Regions from separate parts of the Homo sapiens genome. Here regions 2, 3 and 4 are each linked to region 1. Evidence: promoter capture Hi-C in human tissues and cell types (Jung and others, 2019). All regions are on one chromosome and are shown on one strand. Each heading gives the region's core, a stretch centred on a gene start or on the middle of the fragment in contact. The rest is flanking DNA. Distances are from core to core; before and after follow the strand shown.

Region 1 (6,114 bases), core at 2,313-4,812:
AGAGGTTCTAAGCAACTAGATTTAGTGAAGGCTTTAACCTAAGTGGGGGGTGAGATTTCTGGTCAGTGCAGCTGGAGATGCAAGGACGCTGGTCACTATCGGAAGCAGCACCCCAGAGAAATCAGCAGGGAAGGGGAAGGCAAATTAGTCTTATTCTGGCTGTCGTTCAGTGCGAGTAAGGGGCCTTTCAGACCCTTCCTACGGAGCTCCAAGTAGACAGGTTCCAGAAAGGGCCAGAGAAGTAGCTGGGTCCTCAGAGATGTGAACCACTGGTGTATGCAGACCTCAGGATCCCCATCCTATTAGAGAGTTATGACAGCTGAAAGCAACTCAAGTATATCCTGGCAGTGACCCTTACACGCTTGACACCTGATAGCGGCTTAGCCACACCTTGGGAGTGTAGGTGTACCTGATCTGTATCAACTGCTTTTTGAAGCGCAGTTCTGTCCCAGCTGGCTGCTCTGGACCACTCTGTATTCAAGTCCCCTCCATACACCATATGTGTTCATTGGCTCTGGGTCGCCTCGGCTTCTCGAACATGGTGCCATCCCTATTTAATTCAGTGGGGGCCCAACACAACAGGATACACGAAGGCATGAGTGGTGACTAGGGGAGCCCAACGAATAGGCTAGACCCACAGTAAAGACGGTTCAAGTGTTAAAGCTCCCACAGCTGACAACACCAAACTGAGCTCGCGCCCCACAGGGAAAATCCTGGAACACCCTGGTGTTTCCCATTTTCCTTTCACATCCTTCAGATTTCCTGCCACGTTCATATAGACTCAAGTGACTACGAACAAACAGCTCCCCCACCACCACCATAAAGCCTCTGCAGCTCCAACATGTAACTTTCAAGCTAAAAATAAGCTGTAGAGCCCAGCAGCTGGGAGTTTGGATATGTTTTACTCAAGTTCGACTGTTTAGTTTTCAGTGTCAACTCCAGCAAGGCTTTATGCACGAGTGTAAAGGTTACCAGCTTGCAAGAGCTTGAAGTTGGTCCTTCGTTTTCTTAATCTTGTTACACGAATGCACTACCTGTGAATGCAATTATACCATTTGTTTTAAGGGTCTCAAGGTGATTTGATGAGTTCTAAGTTATCAAAGCAGATGCAGCGGCCTACAAGCCGGGCCTGCGTATCTTACTTTAGGAATCTGTTTTGTACATTCTCCACGGCTCCTCAGTTCGCAGAGCTACTTTCATATCCGTTATTTCCTGATTAACAGTTGTGGGTGGGGAGTGGGGTCATCCCTAGGAGCATCTTCCAGGTGTCAGGGTTATTCCTGAGAGTTAAAGTTAGGGAACGCGGGAATGAGAAGCAGTGTTTGCAAGGGGTTGAAGTTGCAATTTAAAATGAGACCGGTGACACTCATCAACTAACATTTGAGCAATTAAGTACTTCTGAAGGACACAGGAGTCAGCCAAGTAGATCTCAGGTAAGAGTTTCAGGAAAACACCCTCCGAAGCCAGTACCCAAGGCAAAGATGATACAGATGAGGGGAGGCGGACAACGGAGTCTAAGTGACCCGGAGACTGTCATCCAGGACCCTAATGGGCCGTTTTCAAGACTAGCTTTTACTTCATGAAACTTGGAGCCCCTACAGACAAGCTGAGGAATATTTTACTTCGGATGGATCACTCAGCTACCTGGAGAACACACAAGGTTAGGAAGAATAGGAGACAGGCAACATGGCCACTAACCCAGGTGAGCCACGAGAGACTGCTCTACAGAAGTAGGTAGCAAGAGACTAACCTTGATACAACCTTAAGCAGAACAGACCTTTCAGAGAAGCAGGAACCGCTCACAGCGTGGGTTTCAGAGTTTTTAGCTACCCGCAAGTACTTTGGTTTCTCCCACTTTTACCACCCTCCTAGCCCCCAGAGCCCCAATGGAAAACTTGTACCCACGCTACTGAAAGACGAGACTAGAAGCTTGGACACTTCACATTCCCTGCTCTCCCTTCCACAATTGAGCCACTGCCCTGGTTTTAGAAGTGGGGCTTGTTTTGCTCTGAAGTAACCCTTAACGTCCTTAGAAGTAGCAGCTCCCCTACCCCTCTCCCCACGCCTTTGCCTTTTAAAAACCTTAACTTTTGAGAGAGAGAAACAGCACAAGTTCAGGCCCAGCAGAGTAACCCCTACGTTGTTGCCAGCAACTACTTCAAGGGCAGTTAACCGTGCTTAAAGACGCCAAAAGCATCCATCTCCCGCTTACAACAACATTTAGCTACCCCCCACCCACGTACTTTGCTTTCTCCCACTTTTACAACCCTCCCACCCCCAGAGCCCCGAGGGAAAGCTTGTACCCATTCTACTGAAAGATGAGACTAGAAACTTGTACACTTCACAGCGCCTGCTCTCCAGCTGAGCCACTACCCGGGTTTTACAAGTGGGGCTTGTTTTGCTTTCTTAGGAAATAACCTTTAACTTCCTTAAAAGCAGCAGCGCCCCCACCCCCACTTTTGCCTTTCAAAAGCTAAACTTTTGAGAAAAAGCACGAGTTCAGGCCTAACAAAGAGTAACCCTTACGTTCTTGTTGCCAGTAACTACTTCAAGAAAAAGCACTTAACCGTGCTTAGAGAAAGACGCCAACAGCATTCCTCTTCCACTTACAACAACATTCAGCTACCCGCCCGCACCCCGCCAAATACTTTGCTTTCTCCCACTTTTACAACCCTCCCAGCCCCCAGAGCCCCAAGGGGAAAGCTTGTACCCATCCTACTGAAAGATGAGACTAGAAACTTGGACACTTTACAGCCCCTGCTCTCCCGCCACAACTGAGCCACTACCCTGGTTTTAGGAGTGAGACTTGTTTTGTTTAGGAAATAACCTTTAACTTCCTTAAGACCGACAGCTCCCCCATCCCCCACGCCTTTTTTGCCTTTCAAAAGCTCAACTTTTGAGAGAAAAAGCACGAGTTCAGGCCCAACAAAGAGTAACCCCTACGTTCTTGTTGCCAGCAACTACTTCAAGCAAGGGCACTTAACCGTACTTTAAGAAGACGTAAAAAGCATCCCTCTCCTGCTTACAAAACCCGAGCAGGAGGACTGGCGGCTGGGCAACGCCCGGGACCGGTCAAAAAGGAGAGGCCGGGGAGCGCCCGCCACGCAACGCGGTCACAGGTACAGAGAGGTTTTTCCAGACCCCCACCAAAGCCCGCCAGTACTTTCAGCGTCTTTAAGACCCCCCCGCAAATAAACTTCCTACAGCCCAGCTTCTCCTACAAGCTAGCAACAGAAAGGCACCCACCCCCCGACTCCCAGAAGCATTCTGACGCGGCTGCTTGTCTGCGCCGCCTTTTCAAGGGCCCGCGGGGCGTGCTATACGTCACTTCCGGGGCGGGGCGAGCAAGGCGGAGGCGGGGCCGGGGCCGGCGGGGGAGGGGAGCGCCAGGTCCGCGCAGGCTCGCCGGGACCGCAGCCGCCGAGCCGAGCGCTTGACTATATATGGTCAAAGCTGGGGGCGAGCCGCGCGCGGGACCGCGCTTCCGGGTTCGGGGCGTCCGCAACCACAGCGCGCAGGGCAGGCGCGAGCTGGCCTCTGAGCCCCGGCCTCGGACCGCCCACTCCACTCCCGGCACGCCCGGTGCCGCCTTCCGGCTCCAGTCCCCGGGCTCGGCCTCGGCGAGGTGTAATTCGCAGCGCGGGCCGGCCCCGGAGGCTCTCGGCGAGCGCGGCGCGGTAACAAGTGGGCGAGGATGCCGTACGAGATCAGTAAGTGCCGCGGCGCGGGGCCCCCGAGCGGCCGCCGCGCTGCCCCGGCCCCGGTCCCCGGCCCCTAGGCGCCGTGCGGGTGGCGGGGGAGTCCTCGGCGCGGGGGAGGGGTGCGGGCGCCGGCCGGAGGCGTGGCGGGGCCGCCCTCGGTGGTGCAGGGCGGGACCCCCGACGGGGGGTGCGCCCCCAAGTTGGCGCCGTGGGCCGAGCCGGAGGAGCCCCGCTGCCCCCAAGGGCCTGGCCCGGGGCGCGGACCAGGAAGTCGCGCGGTTCCTGGCGCTCGTGGAAAGTGGAGGCCGCCCTCCCGGCGCAGTCAACAGGTGACCGGCCGAGACCGGTCCGGGGCTCCTTCTCCCTTCTGTCCCCGCCGTCCCCGCCCTGCCCTGACATGCCCCGCCGCATTTGTGTCTCCGCAGAGAAGGTGTTCGCCAGCCTCCCGCAGGTGGAGAGGGGCGTCTCCAAGATCATCGGCGGCGACCCTAAGGGCAACAATTTTCTGTACACCAATGGAAAGTGCGTCATCCTAAGGAACATCGACGTGAGTACCCCCTACCCCGGGCGCGGTTCTGCTCCGGAGCCACCTTGGGATGGGATAATTCGCCTTCCTCTCCACTTCTCACCTCCTGCCCATTGGCCCGGGGAGGGTGAGGGCGCCACGCCCCCTCTACCGGGAGCCACACCTCGGAGCCCCGGAAGCCGGCCTCAGATTCACCCAGGTCCTTGTCTGCTCCTTCTTGATGAGGAAACTGAGTCTTAGTTCGTTTCTGTCTACGGTCATAGCACCCTGAAAGCGCCGGATCGCCTCTGATCTTGGAAGCTAAGCACGGTCAGGCCTGGTTAGTACGTGGATGGGAGATTAGATTAGTTCATTCCTTAAAAGCAAGGGCTCCGGATTTGAGGGATCAGACTGACCCGGTCGGCCGCTGCGTGACCTTGAGAAGATTGGCGATTTGGGCATCTCTGAGCCCCAGTTTTCTCGTCTGTAAAACAGATGATGAGATGATGACCACTCTCGCTTCGCCTGCTGGCTGGGCAGATGGAATGAATGAGCTGCTGGCGTCCCTCAAGCCCAGCGGTGCCTGGTGCACTTTGAGCCCTTGCTGAATGGAATGGCACTCAGCTAACTCGCTGTTAATACCCTGGTCTTCCAGTATGGCAGAGCCCGGAAAAACACCCGGGCCTCTGGGCCAGCCAGATCTGCCACCATGGATCTAAGCCCCAAAGCAAAAACAGGAAGCAGTGTTTTCCCATGAATCATTCTCTGCAAGCCTCCGGTACCCAGGCTGAAAAGGCTTCTAGAGCCAGCTCCTTGGGAAATCCTTGCAAATTCATGTTATTCCTCTGTAATTGTTGGGGTGACCCAGTCTGTCAGTCTCCCTCCCTTCCTGGGTTACACGCTTAAATTTTGCTTTTCCCTTCCTCAGCCTGAGTGATGGAATTGGTGGGGTGGGAGTTGGAGGTGCCGGCCCGGCCATTGGGTGATTTCTCCTGTGCTGTGCTTAGTGGGGGCGGCTGGCACAAAGATGTATGTTTTGATTGATGCCATAGGCATACAAGGGTTGTCAACTTAAAGTCAGCCTGATTTCCCTTGGTAGGTTGGGACTGTTGATCGGACACACTTGCCCTCCAGGAGGCCAGCAACTGGCTGAGGGAATGAAGGGGTCTCTGGGTCTCAGTTTCCTTCTCTGTGAAAGGAGAAGCCTCTTGGTCCGAAGAGCTGCTGGCTCTGCCCGCATCTGTCTCGTTAACCCAGGCAGTCGCTGCTGTTCCTCTGCTGGAAGACAGAGCTCTACCTGCCCTGGATTGCTGGGCCCCTCAAATGAGGGGGTGGGCGGGTGTGAATGTGCTTTGAAGGTGCTAACAACTTGCTAGTCACACAGATTCCTAGAAAGCCGAAGGGCCTTGCTTAGAACTGGAGAAAATCACCAGGGATCTAATGGTAATGATCTGGAAGTCTCCGAAGGCAGGTCCTGAGGCTTTTGAGAAAATAAAAATTGAGACAACCCTAAAGAGATATTTAGTAGTTTGGCAAATAAAATCCACTAACACGTCCTCGGATACAGAGCAGTAGGATATTTCGTTTTGCCCCTAACCAGGCCTTCCCTGTCGTTGCAGTCCACATTGACTTCCAGGGAGGGGGCCTCACATAAAGTACCTGCTGTGCATCTGGCCCTGTGATAGCTTCTTAAACTGTAGCATCTCTTTCCACCCCACATGGGTCCGTTACTCTAAAGAGGAGTCAGACTTAGCAAGGTGAGGCAGGCCAGTAACTGGAGCTGCTTCTAATGGAGTGGTCATTCAGGGACAGGCACCCCTTTGCAGAAAGCATTTCCCAGCTTGTGAAACCCATTCTGCCTGTTTCTGAGCTCTGTATTCTTACCCCTTCCCCGTGGTTTGCCATTTT
Region 2 (6,114 bases), core at 1,464-3,963, 740 kb before region 1:
AGTAAGAGCTCAATAATATGTATTGGATAAACTAATAAAGAAATGAATCCTAATCTTTTTCATTTTCTTAAGCTTCAACATTACTAGTGATAGATATTGCTGTGGTGTTTGAAGACATAGTTACTGCTATAAACTTTTGGCAAGAATGCAAATTGGTATGTTTCCGGAAAGCTAGTTTGAAACATGGAGCAAAAGCTTTTTAATTGCCTTTACCCATTATGGTCAAGGTAGAATAGTTTTTGCAGATAAAATTTTCAGTGCAGAATGAAGAAATGCTGAAAAAATATTTTTTAAAGAAAATCTACCAAAGATAATAGAGAGCTATTAAAGTGGCAAGTACTTGGAGGCCCAGAGTTGACAGAGGTGACTACAATATTTGGCACTACTTTACCTCAATGGATGTTTTCATGTCTCAAGAGCAGCTGACAGGCTCACAAGAAGAGAATAGCTTCCAGAATTCTGATGGGACTATAAGAGAGTCCTGGAATACATCTTGAGTTTTTTTTTTTTTTTTTTTAATGACTTTTAGCTAGAATTCCAAATGGCTGAATCTAGCACAATGAAGCAGACTTCACAAAGACTAAATTCCAACCTCCAAGAGGAGGCTAAAGAGATATAATAATTAAATTTAGCATGGGATTCTTGGACAGGAAAATACATTAAGTAAAAGCTAAAGAAATCTGAATATAACATTTAGTTTATAATGATGTATCAGTATTTGTTTATTAATTGTAACAAATTACCATACAATGTATGATGTTAATAATATGGGAAACTAGATGTGAGGTACATATAGAAACTCTATATGGTATCTCATCATTTTTCTGTTAATATAACATTGTTTTAAAAATTAAGTCAATCAAAAAACAAAGATGTGACATATATAAATGGATAAAATCGTCTAATTAAAAACAGAAATTGACATACTGCATAACAAAGAACAAACAAAACCCTTTGTAACTTAAAATAGACAGACTCTAAATATAAAGATATTAAGAAATTAGAAATAAAAGAATATAAAGAAATATGCCATAGAATCACTAAGCAAAATAAATCTGACAAATACTAGAATATCAGAATATTATAGTTAATTATATTCATTATAAATATCAAGAAGTTTAATATTTTATTTAAAATACCAAAATCATGATGTTTAACTAGAAAGTTGATAGAAAGAGGGATACTTTATTATTTTAAAAGCATCAACTTATTAGAATTATATAGAACTGTTTTTCCTTTAATGAAATAGACTAAAAACATCTATCACAAATATTGACAAATATAAAAAGAGGAAAATACAAATGTTCCATCATCAAGGGAATCTTGGCACACTCTTCTCAGTCACTGATAGAATAAGGCATTGATAAAATCAGATAAAAAATAAGAAAGGATGTTGAAGATTAAAAATAAAATTTAAAAATTCTGCCTACTTAACACTTATAGAAGACTATAACCAACATCTACAGAATATTTTTTTTGGACATGGAACTAAATCAAAGTATGTTCCGATCATGGAGAATTAAGCTTGAAATTAACAACATAAGGATAACTATATTTTAACTTTGAAAGTAAGCAAAAACTTCTAAATTAACAATAGGTCAATAAAAATTAGAAGGCATTTTAAAGTAAATAAAACATAAATAAATGTAAATATAATCTCAGCACTTTGAGAGGCCAAGGCAGGAGGATCACTTGAGGCCAGGAGTTTGAGACCACTCCTGGGCAATATAGCTAAACCTTGTCTCAACAAAAAGTAAACAAATTACCAGGCATGATGATGCACATCTGTATTCCCAGCTACTCAGGAGGCTGAGGTAGAAGGATTATGTGAGCCCTGGAGTTCCACGTTACAGTGAGCTATGATTGTGCCACTGCAGTCCAGCCTAAATGAGAAAATGAGAACCTGTCTCCAAAGAATAAAACAATAAAAAAAAGATGTAACTAAAAATTATCTCACTGGATGAGGTTACACTGTAGTTAAGATTTCTAGGCCTAAGTATATATGTTTTTTTTTAAAGATTAAAAATTCATGGCCTAGATGTGTTTTTAAAGATATTAAAAGAATGTCAAATGAGCTCAAAGCAGGAAAAAATAAGCAGAATAGAATAAAAGGTGTCTTAGTCCATTTAGTGTTGTTATAACAGAATGCCCAAGGCTGGATAATTTATAAAGAAAATAGGTTTATTTGGCTAACAATTCTGGTGGCTGAAAACTTCAAAACTGTGCAACTGTATATGGTGAGGACCTCAGGCTGCTTCCTCTCATAGCAGAAAGTGGAAGGGGGGCCAGTGTGTGAAAAAAAAATTCACATGATGAGAGTGGAAGCAAGAGAGGGCAAATAAGGAACCCAGACTCTTGGTAAAATAGATAGACCACTAGCCAGACTAATCCATTTCCACTACAGCAAGATTTCATTCACCCCCAGTGCATTAATCTACGTATGAGGGATCTACCACCATGAGCCAAAGACTTCCTTCCAGACTTCATTTCCAATACTGCTACATTGAGATGAAATTCAATATGAGTTTTGGCTGGGACGAATCACATCAAAACAATAGCATTATGCAAATAAATATAAAATGTAGAGAATCAACAAAGCCAGAGGTCAATTTGTTGAAATAAATAATAAAACCAGTAATTTCCTAGCAAAGCTGATCAAGATTAAAAAGAGATGAATCATAAATTACCAATACTAGAGGGGTAATCACTACAGCTCTAACATATGTTAAATGAGGAAGTTATTATGAACAACTCTATGCCATTATTGGAAAATTTAGATAATAATGAAAACTTAATTAACAAATGCAACTTACTAAAACTAACCCAAAAAGAAATAGAAAACAAGTTCATGTGATTGTTTTTAGTTGCATAACAAAGTTGATAAAATTAATGTCTAACCGGTATTTAAGCAAAGCAAGACCTTAAGCAAACTAGAAATAGAAGTGAACTTTCCTAAGTGGATAAATGATATTAAAAATAAAAACAAACAAACACCTATAGAAACACATACATTGACTCTTAATGGCAAAACATTATAAACTTTCCTCCTGAGATCAAGACTCAGGCAATAGAAGACTACTTCTAATTGGCATTCTTCTGGAAGTGGTAGCCAGTGCAATAAGGCAAGAAAATTAATAGAATTGGAAAGTCAGAAATAAAACTATCATCACTCACACTATATTTGCCTATAGTTATTAAAAACATAAAAATTAAAAAGCTCTGATGTATTAAATCAAACAAGTGAATTTAACAAGTTCACTGGATACAAAGTTAATATATGAAAGTCAATCACATTTCTACTTTAACAGCAATTAGAAAATGAAATGTAAGTACCAATTATAATTATACATATGTATAGAACTATACATAGATTACATATACATAATTTATACAATCATGTGTATATGTATGTGCATAATTCACAAGATACCTATAGAGAAAGTACAGATCTAAATAAATTGAGAACTATAACATGTGAAGATTCTCTTCAAATTGATCTAGAATTTTGATATAATTACTAGCCGAGTTGTGTATGTGTATGTGTGTAAATTGGTGAGCAATTACTGACATGCTAGTAAAAATTAAAGTCATGAAAAAAGACAGTCTTAGAAAGGATTTTATAGCAAACAAACTTACAACTTTTAAAATATGTTTTCTTTCATCATTTATTTCTCTAAAAATTTCAGAAAATGAGAGCATCCGATAGCCATAGCCAGATGCTCATCTCACTCTCTGTTTCTAACTCATCAATTTTATAGGTTTATTTTGTAATTGATTATAACAGAAGATAGCTCAGCTCCCATTTTTTCAGGTATAGTTTTGGGACCCACAGGGGGCCAAGGATGTTGAACTCATTAATAAATAACCTTCAAAAGGCTTGCAAGACACATTTGAAAATCTGTTCAAGTACATATTTTGAAAAGAGGCCATGGGGAAAAATAGTAAAGAAGTTAAAATATACTGTCTGAAGATATTTTTAATGTTACAATTTGAAAACAAAGAAATTATAGTAAAAACATAAATTATATGTATATCTGAAATTATATGTGTATCTGAAAGGTGATGCAGATACACATTTGGAAAAAAAAGAGTCACAGTATTTATTCATAAGTATTTCACAGAGATGACTTTAATAGAGTAGACATAATTGGTAAACACATTAAAGGCCTAGAAATCTTAGAATTAGTGATTTTTCATTTCACATCAATAGTCCTCGAGCTATTTTTCTGCTCCCACGTAGCTATTCAGGACTCACTTGTGGTCTTTATTCACTCAGTTGTGGGCAACATAGGGTAACTTCCATTTTCTCCTCTAGGATAAAGCTTCCCCATTGGGGTAAAATTTGGGATTTTTTTCTAGCATTTAAGTGATATCTTCTGCTCACAGAAGAGTCATACTCACATTGCTTTGGTGGCTATTTTGACATGTCTGTGGCTTGTTTGAGGATTCTTGCATCATAGTGCAGCATTAACATTCAATGAATTATGTGTATCCCACAGAGGTCAATGAGAAAACTCACAAGGCAAAGTCTCTCTGAGTGTGAAGCAGTTCTTTCTCTAAATCCCTTTGCACAGATACACCCAGTGACCCAGCTGGATTATTGTAGAGTCCAGTGTTGGCCTGGAAACTCATAGTTAGACTGAAAAGGAATTTGGAATAGAAGTGGGCCTTTGAGAATGACAACAGTGTGTAGAGACAGATGCTAGAAAGAATAGCTGAGAAAGCATTGAAATCATCACAGGCTGAATTCATAGTCCTTGAAACCTGTACTCCACATCTTGATTAGCACAACTGCAAAGACCTCAAGCTTCTTCAACCCTTTTAAAAAATAATGACATTCTCTACAAATAGATACTTTGATTTGGAAGCTATTTTATGGTTATTATATCAAATTTCATAATTTTAAGAGAACAGTGTTTTCCTAAATTCAAGTTCAGCAGATTATCTAATCATTCTTTCTACTAATAAAAAGCTGCAGCTTTCACCCAAGATTTTATATACTCATAAATATAAACATTGTTCTTCTTTTGATTCTAGATATTTAAACTTGGTAGGAGATAACACAATGTTTACAAAATACTTGGAATTCTTTCATGTGAGTTTTTCATATTTTATGTGCCTTTATCTGATTAGGGATACCAATTTATAGGACTGTTCTACTGACTTTCCCAATGAATCAGAAAAAAAAAAAGTTGCTAAGTAATAAATTTACATTTACTAGTTTCTGTATTTTTTATTGACACAATAAATAAGTCAATAATACCAACCTGTTTTGAATAGCAAGACCAAAAATATTACTTTCATATTCTACTGACCTTCACTTAGATATCTTTATGCCAATGTTTTCTCCTTTGGTATGTCATTATGGATTTATGCCTTTTCAGATTTACTGTATATCATTGATCTTTGTCAATAATCTTTTGAGGCCCAATTGCCTCATCTTGGCCAATAGAAGCTCCCTTCAAATTATGCTTAGATCATTGCAAATTAGATTATTTCAATGTGACTGCATTATTTGTGACATATTTTTGCTTTCTGGCACAACATAATTATATAGGCTCACTTTTCCCCTTTCAACCCAGACAAAGAATCAGCTACTTATTTTCAAGGCACCATGGTTTCTCATAATGGGAAAATAGAATTGAATAGACAAGAATCTGAGTGATGCTGTGAATAATTGTGGTGGGGTGGTGTGGGGCACATGTCCTTGGCTATTTCTTTGGGCAAAGCTAATAAAGATGTATTCTGAATTTCTTTGAAAACTTACATGATTTTGCTTTTTATGTTTCTGATTCAACTCTAATAGTACAGTGCCCACACCTAAATTTTATTTTATTTTCTCTTATACTAAGCATATTGAGTCCTAACAAACATATCTTTTAAAATTTACTAAAAATATAAGAAAAAATTCAAAATAATAATTTAATGTTAGTGCAAAAATATAATTAGTGACTGAGTTCGATTTTGGGCAGTTCTTTTTGTTTCTATCACATTATGCTGTAGATTTGCAGTCAGATTATTTTGTTTTAGAATGATGGTTCTCAAGACTCATTGTGCATCAGAATTGCCCGGAAGGTTTGTTTAAAACAAATAGCTGGGCTTTGTTCACTGAAT
Region 3 (6,114 bases), core at 2,627-5,126, 630 kb before region 1:
CCTGGAGTAATACGGGTCTAAATTCAAATTCCGGGTCTGTTTCTTAATATTTGACCTTTTTATATAGAAAGTATGTATGTATGTATATATATATACTGATGAAGATTAGCTGCCACCAAAGGTTCCTATGGGTATTAACAAAGATGATGTGTGCAAAGTTCCTAAATGAGAGTCCAGCCCTCAAGGTGTTTGACTGGTGGTTGGGTTTGCTTCCTCTTCTAGCAGGACAGTTGCCCGTTGGAGAAGTGAGATACAGCCGCTCACACTTGCATCGCCATCCTTTTCTAAAGCCTCAGGTCCTCACTTTTCATTTTGAAAGTAAAAATGCAGACCGACAGTAGTCCCTCAGATGAAAGTCCCTTGGGTCACAGTCTCCTTTGTTGGGATGGGGGAGGCTCACACCTCCCAGGCAATTCTGAGAAGTCTTTAGAAAAGGGCTGCAATTTGTTTACCATTTCCGACAGTCTTATTTGTTGCCATAGCTTGACTTTAGGCAGCCCTCCTACCAGCTGCCTCATTAAAATAAAGCCCTCTTTATACCTTCAGTGGCCAGTGGCCTAGCACATAAAAAGAACTGCTAGCCACTCCCTAGATTCTACCAGTGCTTGCAGCCAAAGTTTGGGCCTCCTCATCAAGGGTGGGTACACATTCCCCATCCTCGACCTGCTGCCAAATAGCTGCAATGACTCTAGAAGCTTTTGGAAAAAATATCCTTCAGCATAAAAGGCGAATTTTATACTCTAATCAAAATAACTGCCAAGTTAAAAACATTCTATGAAAAGGGTGCTCTGGGAGAAGAAATGAGAAGCAAAGGAATGTTCTCACCCAGACACTACCTCACTGTGGTAGGAAAAACAGAATAAAATAAAATAAATAAATTGAAAGATTTGCATTATTCCTTTCAAGAGAAAGTGTCCAGTTCAACAAACAAAGAGCCTTTCTGAAATGTTAAGGACTTCTAATTATGACTAATAAGCTTGGCCTCACACTAACTTCCAGACCTAAGATTTACAGCCTCCAGCTGCTAGGAGGATTTTACTTCTCCAGTAGGATCCTTCCAGCTAATGTAGTTGATTTTGTATGTCTACAATGTTGAGGAAATGGGGAATTTCTAGTCTATTAACTAATTCAAGTCAGTAGTAACAAATACAACCAGACGTGGTTTCAAATCTTGGGTCCATTACTTCATGGCTGTGTAATCTTGAACAAGATCTCAGCCTCTCTGTGTTCAATGCTTCATTTGTAAAATATGCAAAATGTTGCCTAACTTTTATGGTTATTTGGAAGGAGCAAGAGGTTCTTTTCAAGGTGCCTCGGACACCACAGCTGGGAGTAATTGCATCTTGTTTCTTGACCTCTGTACACCGCACTTTCAGACAAATGTAGGAAAGGTCTCAGGACCATAACTTGAAAACCCTTGACTGAAGTGATGTAAATCCAGATACTCAATGTGTAGAAGACTTAAGGGGATATGAAAACATTTTCCTGTAAGTGAATAGACTTCTACAGGTGACACGAAGGAGTCAGGAAGAAAGGATTAGCAATTGCAAGGAGGCATTTTAGTTTAGATTTAGGCCAATATGAAATACTAGTTAAAAGTAGCCTGTGAAGTCAAACACAGTTCAAGTTCTTTTATGAGCTATGTGACTTTGAATTTTTTTTACTTCCTGTGCCTCAGTTTTGTTTCTGTAAAATGGAGCCCACCATAACCTCAAAACCAATTTATGACACAGTTATTAAATACTTAGTGATATAAAGCACTTTGTGCCTAGGTCATAATAAACACAACAAAATGCAATGTATTATAAAAATATAATGTAACAATACAATGATAATAGCAGCTATTAAGCTTCCTAACATGCAAACAAACTCATCCAGAGAAAGAATAGTGATGATTTCTGTGTTTGGTGTGAGACTAACACAGATGAAAACATTTTTCAGGAGAGGATTCAAGCAAACTGAAGATCATTGTCCTAGAACATGCTCAAGATTCATTCAGATCTTAGGACTCTAGGATTCTAATGCTGCCACTGTTTTCAACTCAATTTATGTAGGGTTTTGAAATAACAGCTTCATTGAGGTACAATTTATAGGTCAGAAAATTCACTGTGTCAAAGTGTACAATCCAGTGATTTTTAGTATACTCAGAGTTGTGCAACAATTATGACTATTTTATTTTAAAACATTTCATTTCTCCTTAAAAATTCGCATACCAATTAGCAGTCACTCCCTATTTCCCCTAACTTCTTCTTCTGAACAACCTCCAATCTACCTCTTGACTATAGATTTGCCTGTTACGGACATTTCATAGAAATGCACTCATATGATATGTGATATTTTGTGACTGGCTTCTTTCACTTTACATGTTTTCAAGGTTCATTCATGTTGTAGCATGCATGGGTACTTCATTCACTTTTATGACTTTATAACATTCCCTGGTATGAATATATCACATTTTGTTTGTCCGTTCATTAACTGATGAACATTTGGGTTGTTTCCATTTTTGGTTAATTCAAATAATGCTGCTATGAACATTTATGTCCAAGTGTTTTATACCCAGAAATGGAATTTGTAGGTGATAACTCTGCTTAACATTTTCTCCACATCCTTATTTGTACTTGTCTTTTTTATTTTAACCATCCTAATAAGTGTGAAGTGGTAGCTCATTGTGATTTTGATATACATCTCCCTAATGAGTAATGATGTTTGAGTATTATTTTTGTGTGTTTATTGGCCAGTTGTATATCCTCCTTGGAGAAATACTTAATATTTATTTGGAGAAATGTCGATTCAGATCCTTTGCTCATTTTTTTGATTGGGTTACTTGCCTTTTCATTGTTGGGTTAAAATTTTTTTATGTAATACAAATTCCTTACTAGATAAATAATTTACAAATACATTTTTTTCATTTTGTGGTTTGCCTCTTCACATTCTTGCTGGTGTCCTTTGAAGAATAATTTTTTAATTTTGTGATAAATGTAAGGGTTTATTTTTGCATCCTTGATTCTATTCCATTATTCTGTTTCCATTCTTATGCCGGTACCACACTATCTTGATTACCATAGAATTATAGTAAGTTTTTAAATCAAAACATGTGAGTTATCCAACTTTGTTTGTACTTAGAATTTTTTCTTCCAATCTGAGCTTCTTGATTTTCCATATAGATTTTATAATCAGCTTAATTTCTTCAAAAGAAATTACCTGAGATTTTGATAGAGATTTTATTGAATCTGTAGATCAATTTTGGGAGTATTGCCACTTTAGCAATATTAAGTCTTCTGATGCATGAACATAAAATAGCTTTCCCTTTATTAAAGATTTTTCTTTAATTTCCCTAAATTAAAGATTCTTCTTTAACTTCTTTCAGTAATGTTTTATAGTTTCATGTATAAGTACTGCACTTCTTTTGTTAAATTAATTTCTTCATATTTTAATCTTTTTTAATGCTATGGTAAATGGAATTGTTTTATTAGTTTACTTTTCATATTGTTTATTGCTAGTATATAGAAATGTAATTGATTTTATATCTTGATCTTGTATCAATTTAACAGTAGGCACACCGGCCACACATGTACAAAGATTAACAGAAAACTCAATTTACTTGTGAACAGGTAAATTCTCAAGTAAAAGATGCTTATTTTTTCTTTTATCTCTTAAAAGTGATGCTTAGAATTACATTTTCAACCTATCTTAATTTTGTGTTTGTCATTGAAAGACATTGTCAGATAAGACAGAAATCAGAATAATGGGTCGGAGCAGACAGACGAGAACAGGTGGCATAAACCATGGTCCTGGAGGCCTGAACATGCTTTGTTCTTCATGGCCCTGACAGTTACCCTACAGTTTTATGCCATTTTCATATTATTCTTGCAATTAGAGAACATTGAAGACAGAAACAATTGTATTACTTAACAACATGCTAGAACAATAAGGCAACAAATCTTAAGTCTTAGTCAATGTGCTGTTTTCAGAATGTTTTTTTTCTAGGTTATAGCGAAACCTAAAGAAATAAACAATTTTGGTTCAATCTGTGCTTCTTGTTTTACACAGTTTTGGTATATTCTCCCCAAACCACTTCTGCTCTTATTCCCTGGGGACCCTATTTCATTTTCAATCTTAACACCATTCTCATTTTCAAAATCGTTCATGCAGCACACAGAAATAGAAATGTAGGCTACCAAAGTCAAGCTGAAAAAGCAACTATCCAGTACATCCCCCATCCATAAATGACCGCTGTGACACTATCATGCTTTGCACACACCTCCCTTTCAGCCCTCTTCACAGTCTATTACAGCCATTCACTCACATATTTGTCCCCACAAACTCTTATAGAAAAGACCCATGCCATTTTCATCACTGCATCTCTAGAGCATGGAGCACAATGGCTAGCCCTTAGTGCATGCTTAGAAAATGTTTTCCAACTGAGTATGTAAAGGGAATTTCTTTTGAAACTCTCCTTTACCCTTTCTAAGTCTCAAAACAGCTTTACAAACATAATTGCTTTGGCATAATTTTTCTAAGCATTTCTTCTGACATTTCTTTTGGGAAATAATTTTACCAAAAGTCAATAGAGTTATTGAGCACCTGCTGTGTGGAAGACTCTGCCAGATGTTATGGCACATAGAACAGAGCTTTTGATCTAGCTGAGGACACAATGTATGTAGGTGATAAAAATCAGTGCAAACGTTGACTGAGCACTTACATGTGCCAGGGATGATGCTTTGATGAATGTAACTCATTTAAGTCATGCAGCAAATGAATGCAATGGGCACTAGTCCTATTCTCTCTGACAGGTGAAGGAATGGCAGGTGAGCTATGTCACTTGCACAAGGTCACTCAACTTATAAATGGCTAAGCCAAGATTTGATCCCAGGCAATCTGACCCCAGGACATATTTAGTTAACCAACAACCTCTTTCGCACATACAAAGTCACAGATGATAATAGACAAGTAAATTTTTTTATTCCTCCAGAAATGTAGGGGGACAGATGATCACTATAGACCAGGATGTTCACTGAAGGATTCAAAGAGATGATAGATTTCAGTAAGCTGAAAAAAGCTGAGCCAAATTTAAACACAGTAACAAGGAACTCTAGACAAGGGGAAACTGTGAACAACACTAGAGAGCTTGGTGGGGGGTTCAGTCATTCTGAGGTAATGGTTAATACTACCCAATGTACTATTCTGGGCAATGAAGATAAAATAAGACAAACTGCATGTTCTCATGGACCTTACATAACAAACAACAAAAAAATAAAGACAGACTTGTCTAGTGGAGAGATGTGCTATGAAAAAAGTAATAAAGCAGCATAAGGAAACTGAAACAGACAAAGGATGTGTTGCTATGTAATAAAGTGCACACAGAAAACAGCCTCTCTGTGAAGGTGACATCCCACCTGCCACCCATAGTAGGAAAAAAGCAGGGAGACATGTGAAAACCAGTGAATTAGGCATTTCCAGGGAGAGGAAACAGAATATCCAAAGGCCCTGAGGTAGAGCATTCTTACTGAGTGTGAAGAAAGTGAGGGAACCAATATGGCTGGAGTGCAGCCAGTGAAGAGTAGAGAGGTGGGAGGTGATACCCACAGGGGCCAGGATCTGTAGAGTCACGTAAATCATTGCAGTCACTTTGGATTTTTCTCTGCTGAAGACTTTCCATCAGCTTCCCATCTGACTCACAGGAACAATACATGAGTCTTCCATTTCAGAAAGATCACTCTGGCCAAATGCTCCTAGAATGAAGGAGTACATGAGCAGGTAACCAGGGATGCTTGAGGAGAGGTATTCTTGGCCAGCTCATGTAGAGAATGTTCGTGTAGAGAAGCAACAGAAATTGAAGCTGAAGACAGTTGATTGGGAGTCGTCTTTGTTGCCATGCTGGCAAGCTTAGACTTTGACTGTGTGGCAATCAGAGGGTTTGCGGAGGACACTACATCACTACATGAAATACATGATATGATGCTCATATTTCCTGTTCCAAATGTCTTCCTGTTCTATACATATCATAGGCACTGATAATATTCAGAATTTTTTAAGAAGTATATTTGACTAGGTGAGATACAGGAAACCAATGAAACACAAAACTATCAGGGGCAGCACTGTCAGTGATCCTTA
Region 4 (6,114 bases), core at 1,271-3,770, 580 kb before region 1:
CTTGTACTTGTTTGGCGACCCCATATCACCTCACCTTTCTGTGCCTCAGTTTTCCCGTCTATAAATTGGGGATCATTCATCTACCTCACAGAGTAATTGTAAGGATCAAATGAGCTAATAAATGTGAAGCCTTTTCTATGGTGGCGTGTGGCAAGCACTGTTTAAGTGTTTCTTAGGATCAGTTCCTGCATATTATCAGGTTCCTTCCCAGCTCCTTATGCATATCTCTGCACTTCCATTCACCTAACAACTTGCCTATTTATTTTCAGTATCTCACAGCACAACAGGCTCCTTGAGAAAGGGGACTGCGTTTTATTTTTCCTCCCAGAGTCTAGCACAGGACATGGCAAGGGCTAGGAATTCAGTGAAGGTTTGCAGTAGCAGCAAATAATGCTGGCTTTCAGCTGTGGTCTCGCACACACAGTCTGATAAAGGGGGGTCAGGACACATATGTTTCATGGGGGACCTTCAACCACACTGGCTAAGAGAGAGGCAAGGAAGACAATACTTTTAAGCGGGAGATTTCATTTTACATTCACAGGCAATAGATGCAACCAAGCCTGAAATTGACAATGTCTGCTTGCAAAATCTGTAGCATGAGTTTAAGTATTTCCTTGTCAAAATATTGACAAACAAATGAAACAGCTATATCTCATTCATGGCTAGGAAGGTTGGATGGTGATAGCTCCATGGACATCTTTATGGAAGAATTGGAAGAAGAAGTTGAGGGCTTAGAGATATTTGACTAAGCAAAAGTTAGAGAGCTGGTAAAAGCTTTTACGGGTGCAGACGGTGATCACGATTTTCCAGCAATTTAGTCGTAACAATTTGCTGAAATGTTTCAAGCAGTGAAACAGTTGACTAATTTTATTTTTGAATACAAAACATCTGTGTAATTATATGTGCATCATTTTGTACATGTATAAGATGTACATATATATAATCAATATTGTCATTTCACAACGGCACTTGTGTATTAGTTTGCCATTGTTTACACAAAACCATGTTTCTTTCATTGTATGAAAGACATAGGGATTTTTATAGGTAATTTTCCCCACCCATGCTTGTTAGCAGCTTACAGAAGAATGTAAACTCCTTTACGACCCACCTGCACCAAATAAAGGGTCACGTGGCTTAGAGTCCTGAGGCCTGAGCTCCAGCACGACCACTGCATTTGAGCTGCATAACTAAGAAATCCTTCTCTTTTCTATGTGTTGAGTTTCCTTATCTGCCTTATCTGTAAAATTATAAATGTCACCTACATCACAAGTTGGGTTCTGAGATTTGAATGAGGTAAAGATTTTTGGAAACTGTGAACCCCTGTGAATGTATAATAACAACCCACCTAAGTCTGTCTTGCAAAATAATAAATAATTCCAACATCTCTGTAAAGTCAGCCTGGATATATATTTGGCTTTGGAGTTAGACAGGCTTTGATTCCAAGGTTCACGTTCCTCCTGCTAGCTATTGTTGTAACCACAATGACCTTCAGTTTCTTGTAAAATAATCATATCGCTCCCAAAGCATTTACTGAATAATTCTAATATTGGATGTACTATGTAGCCTATTTCATTTATCCTAATTGTAATTCTCAGTTTCTTTACCCCCAAAGTCAGCATCTTCTTCATCTCATTATGCCTTATTCCATAGCTAGCCATTCTTCCCTTTGTGAAACCTGTTTCTTCTCTGATTTCTATTGAAATGCAAAAACTTCATGAGTGTATCAGGGTTCTCCACACAAACAGAGCCAATAGGAAATATATATATACACACACACACACACACACACATATGCACACACAGTCAGTCCTTTATATCCACAAGTTTCAACCAACCACAGATTAAAAAATATTAGAGGAAAATAACAGTACAACAATGAAAAATAATACCAATAAAAATACAGTATAAGAACTATGTACATAGCATTGATATTGTATTAAGTATTATAAGTAATCTAGAGCTGATTTAAAATATATGGAGTGGCGGGGTGCCGTGGCTCATGCCTATAATTCTAGCACTTTGGGAGGCTGAGGCGGATGGATCATCTGAGGTCAGGAGTTCAAGAGCAGCCTGGCCCACATGGTGAAACCCTATCTCTACTAAAAAATACAAAAATTAGCAGGGTGTGGTGGCAGGCAGCTGTAATCCCAGCTACTTTGGAGGCTGAGGCAGGACAATTGCTTGAACCTGGGAGGTGGAAGTTTCAGTGAGCTGACATGGTGCCACTGTGCTCCAGCCTGGGCAACAAGAGCAAAACCGTCTCAGAAAAAAAAAAAAAAAAATATATATATATATATATAGAGAGAGAGAGAGAGAGAGAGAGAGAGACAGAGAGGATGTACATAGGTTATATACAAATACAATGTCATTTTATGTAAGGGACTTGAACATCCATGGGTTTTTATATCCAATCCTCACAAATAGGAAGGATGACTGTGTGTGTGTGTGTGTATACACACACGTATGTGGTGTGTGTGTATACACGTATGTGGTGTGTGTGTGTATACACGTATGTGGTGTGTGTGTGTGTATACACACATACGTGGTGTGTATGTGTGTGTATACACACACATATGTGGTGTGTATGTGTGTGTTTAAGAGACAGAGAGAGAGAGAAAGAAACGTAAGGAATTGGCTCATACGATCATGGAGGCTGAGAAAGTTCTAGGATCTGCCATCAGCAAGCTAGAGACCCAGGAAACCTGACGTGTAGTTCCAGTGTGTGTTCAAAGGTATGAAAACTGGGAAAGCCAATGGTGTAAGTGCTAGTTCAAAAGTTGGCACCCTTGAGACCAAGAAAGAGTCAACTTTAAGTCTGAGTCTGAAGGCTGGAAAAGACCAATGTCCCCACTCAAGCCGCCATGACAAAAAGAGTTCCCTCCTACTCAGCCATCTTGTTCTGTTTAGGTGTTCAGTCGATCAGATGAGACCTACCCACCTGCAGCAGGGAGAGCAATCTGCTTTACTCACTCACATGTTAATCTCATTCAGAAACACCTGCACAGTAATCCCCAGAATATAGTTTGGCCCAATATCTGGGCACCTCATGGCCCAGTCAAGTTGACACATAAAACTAACTGCTGCAATTAGGGTTCACAAGAGCTCTTTCACTACTTAAGTTGAAAGATGTTCCCTGACCTTTCCTTGAAGATTTTGGTTGGGGGGTGAAAATATCTGAGAAATGTGAGAATTTTGGAAGGAGCTCTATCAAGAGACAGAAGGGACAGGTGGATCTGAGCATGAAAGGAAAAAGCAGAGAGCACCAAGAACAAAATTAGCTTCACAGATTTTCAGAAATATGAACAAACCTGTTTTATATATATTGTCACATTTTATTATTCCAGTAGTCACCCATTTATTTATTTATGTACTCACTTAGCAATTAACATTTACTAAGGGCGTAATAATGGCATGGGTATTTCACCAGGTACAAGGGTCAAAGATTCAACTATAGTATGGACCTTGCCCTCAGAGTGTTCCTGTAAACTTAACCATGTTTATAAATGTATTAAGAATAATGTTTAATAAAACCCTATAATTGCTAGTTTGAAAATTGTCTTTAATGTTATCTAGTGTAAAATCACCACCACCAATGACACCACTCTCACCACCAGAGGCTTCCAATTTACAGACACATGACTATATAGACAAGGAATTTACAAACCACCTCCTGAGTTAATAGTTCATGGATGTTCACCTCTCATAAAGGTCTTAATTCCGAACTACAATCTGCTTATTGCAGCTTTTACCCCCACATACCTACTTATGTTACAGAAATTAACACAAAACGGTCAGCACTTCCATAGACATATATCCTGTTCTGGTCTTCATGGTTCTGTTTGATGATCATGATGATGGAGAGGATGAAGATTAGTATCTACAATTTCTTGGATTCATATTATATGTCATGATTCTTTGATGAGCCTCGTTTTATTCTCACAATTCAAAAAAGCAAAGGCAAGGTGGCTATTGTTCGAATGAGTAGATCAAAATGTAGAAGGATTGGTTACAGTTCAATGTTCCCAGGAGAGTGAAGAGCCAATTTAGGTTTGGGAACCAGTAGGCAGCTTCACCAAGGAGGAGCTAGCAGACAGAAAATTAAAAGCAAATTTATTCTCTACACACCCAGTGGCCGTCCTAAATACAAGAAGAGTCTACTCTGGCATGAGAAGCCATTCTTGTTGGACTGCTGAACTTAGAGAATGAATTATTTGGGAAAGGGGAAGAAGGTGATAATTCTTTTCTCTCTCACACTGTCATCCATCGCCATAATCCTGTTTTCATTGCACTTCTACTTGCAAGGACCACCAGTGGCTTCTTTTGCTCACCAAGGGAGATGATGGACTGGAATTTCCTGGAGACCCTGACCCCAGTTCCAGCAGAGTCTTCCTCATTAAGGCAGTCATGCGGGCTCTTCTAACATTGCTTTAGTTCTCACGAAGCCCCGGCCTGCTCAAGTATTCATGTCTCTGAACTCCGGATGTTAAATGAACCACAGTAAAACTCAGGAATTCCTCATAGGTAACTTTGGGGTGAGAGAAGGCACGGATCCAGTGTCAGTGAGATTGCTGCCTTGAATCTCCATGGTAACCCTGAGTCCAGGTGCACAACTGACTTTTATGAAGGGATTTTAATATTTATTTTGCAATCATGAGTGTCTGGAACCATTCACCTGTGGCAGAAAATGTAGAAAGGTTGAGGGGTGACAGTTGGGTTTGCTATTCATAGCTGGAGATCTTTCAATTGTTCCAAGAAAGAGGACACCAAAAATTGATTATCTAGACTGCATGTTCTCAGACTATAATGTGCATAAGAATCACCAGGAGAATTTGTTTAGAATGCACAGTCCTGCATTTGAAATCCAAAGATTTTAATCAGTGATCTGGGGAAGGGCCCTGGAATCTGCATTTTTAACAAATATCCTGATTGATCCAGAGAGAACACTGTAAACTCAATCTTAGAGGGAGCTTGCCTTGACATGGGTTTCCCAGAAAACAGAACCTAAAGCATTTATGATTGACTACTTCATTTGAGAAGGCAATCCTAGGGAGGCTGGAATGAGGGCAAATGGGAAAGTGGCAGGCTGGGAAGGAGAGCCAACAGGAGGAGAAGACTTTCGGCTATTGAGTGCTTTGTATCATGCCCAAGGAGTGTTCCATTTCACTTTCTTGTGGTGCTCTTCTCCTACAGCCCTTACAGCCCACTGTGTCCTGAGGAGTTTCTCTGGAGGACAAAAGGGCAAAGAGTTTATTGCCAGCTTACATCTTCCAATGTTAAAACCCACAGAGTTTCAGCTCCCCTAGACTGCCGTGTGGTTGGTGCATGAGCCGCAAGCAAGCCCTAAAGCATCTCATGCCTTAGCAGCAATTGGGTTGCTCAGTGCTGCAGCAGGAAGCTTAAGGCGTAGACATCAGGCTGGGTGCTGGCAGGTTGCAAAGTAGACATGGAGCAGATGCAGCAAAGGGGGCAGATGAAGCCCATGTTGAGTGTGTCTGTAGCCAGAGCTAGGTCTAAACAGATGACCTAGGACCAAAGAACGGCAAGGCCAAAAAAGACCTGTGGTGGCACACGAGACCCATCTGATACAGATTCCAGACTCAACCTCATCCTCACGCCATCTACTTAGATAAGAAGCTCTGGGCTGGGTGCAGTGGCTCAAGCCTATAATCCCAGCACTTTGGGAGGCCGAGGTGGGTGGATCAACTGAGGTCAGGAGTTTGAGACTAGCCCGGCCAACAGGGTGAAACCCCATCTCTACTAAAAATACAAAAATTTACCAGGCAGGGTGGTAGGCACCTGTAATCCCAGCTACTCGGGAGGCTGAGGCAGGAGAGTTGCTTGAACCCGGGAGGCAGAGGTTGCAGTGAGCAAAGATCACACCAGTGCACTCCAGCCTGGGCAACAGAGCAAGACCCTGTCAAAAAAAAAAAAAAGCTCTAATTGTGATCGAGGACAAGATGAGATTCTCAAAGACAAGGCAGGGGAATTGAATGCTCTATAGGGGTAATAAATGAAACTCTGAGCTGGAAATGCCTCTCCTCTTCCGTCTTCATTATGCTTACCTCTGTACAAAATAGCCTGGTGCACCATGTACTTGGAAAGCTGACCTTGACC

What was found. The method cuts DNA at HindIII sites, captures the fragments that hold promoters and counts their contacts. A contact is called where the count stands out against the background at its distance.
Region 2: a fragment that was not itself captured here is called in contact with the fragment with the promoter of WDR1 in region 1 in 2 of the 25 tissues and cell types used here (lymphoblastoid cells and mesendoderm cells).
Region 3: a contact is called between a fragment that was not itself captured here and the fragment with the promoter of WDR1 in region 1, in 1 of the 25 tissues and cell types used here (lymphoblastoid cells).
Region 4: a fragment that was not itself captured here is called in contact with the fragment with the promoter of WDR1 in region 1 in 1 of the 25 tissues and cell types used here (lymphoblastoid cells).

What each region holds. Positions count from the first base shown.
Region 1 is chr4:10,114,247-10,120,360 of GRCh38, reverse strand. WDR1 (WD repeat domain 1) reads left to right here and starts at 3,562. Exons shown (of 15, transcript NM_017491.5): 1 at 3,562-3,710; 2 at 4,127-4,248. The coding sequence starts at 3,695. LOC124900666 (a long non-coding RNA gene) reads right to left here and starts at 3,272. Exons shown (of 2, transcript XR_007058030.1): 1 at 1,143-3,272; 2 at 884-1,034. It also overlaps the pseudogene RNA5SP155. RefSeq lists enhancers at 2,061-2,150, 2,231-2,330, 4,101-4,250, 3,901-4,705 and silencers at 3,251-3,370, 3,381-3,790, 3,871-4,020. The HindIII fragment of the contact is 10,393 bases long and covers 2,501-6,114 here.
Region 2 is chr4:10,854,967-10,861,080 of GRCh38, reverse strand. No RefSeq gene overlaps it. Among named protein-coding and RNA genes, the nearest start is that of LINC02498, 120 kb to the right of the region's middle. The HindIII fragment of the contact is 3,705 bases long and covers 861-4,565 here.
Region 3 is chr4:10,741,563-10,747,676 of GRCh38, reverse strand. The region is part of intron 2 of LINC02498 (long intergenic non-protein coding RNA 2498); the gene reads right to left. Among named protein-coding and RNA genes, the nearest start is that of LINC02498, 7.0 kb to the right of the region's middle. The HindIII fragment of the contact is 4,925 bases long and covers 1,414-6,114 here.
Region 4 is chr4:10,695,681-10,701,794 of GRCh38, reverse strand. It overlaps a transcript of CLNK not described here. Among named protein-coding and RNA genes, the nearest start is that of CLNK, 14 kb to the right of the region's middle. The HindIII fragment of the contact is 6,731 bases long and covers 1-5,885 here.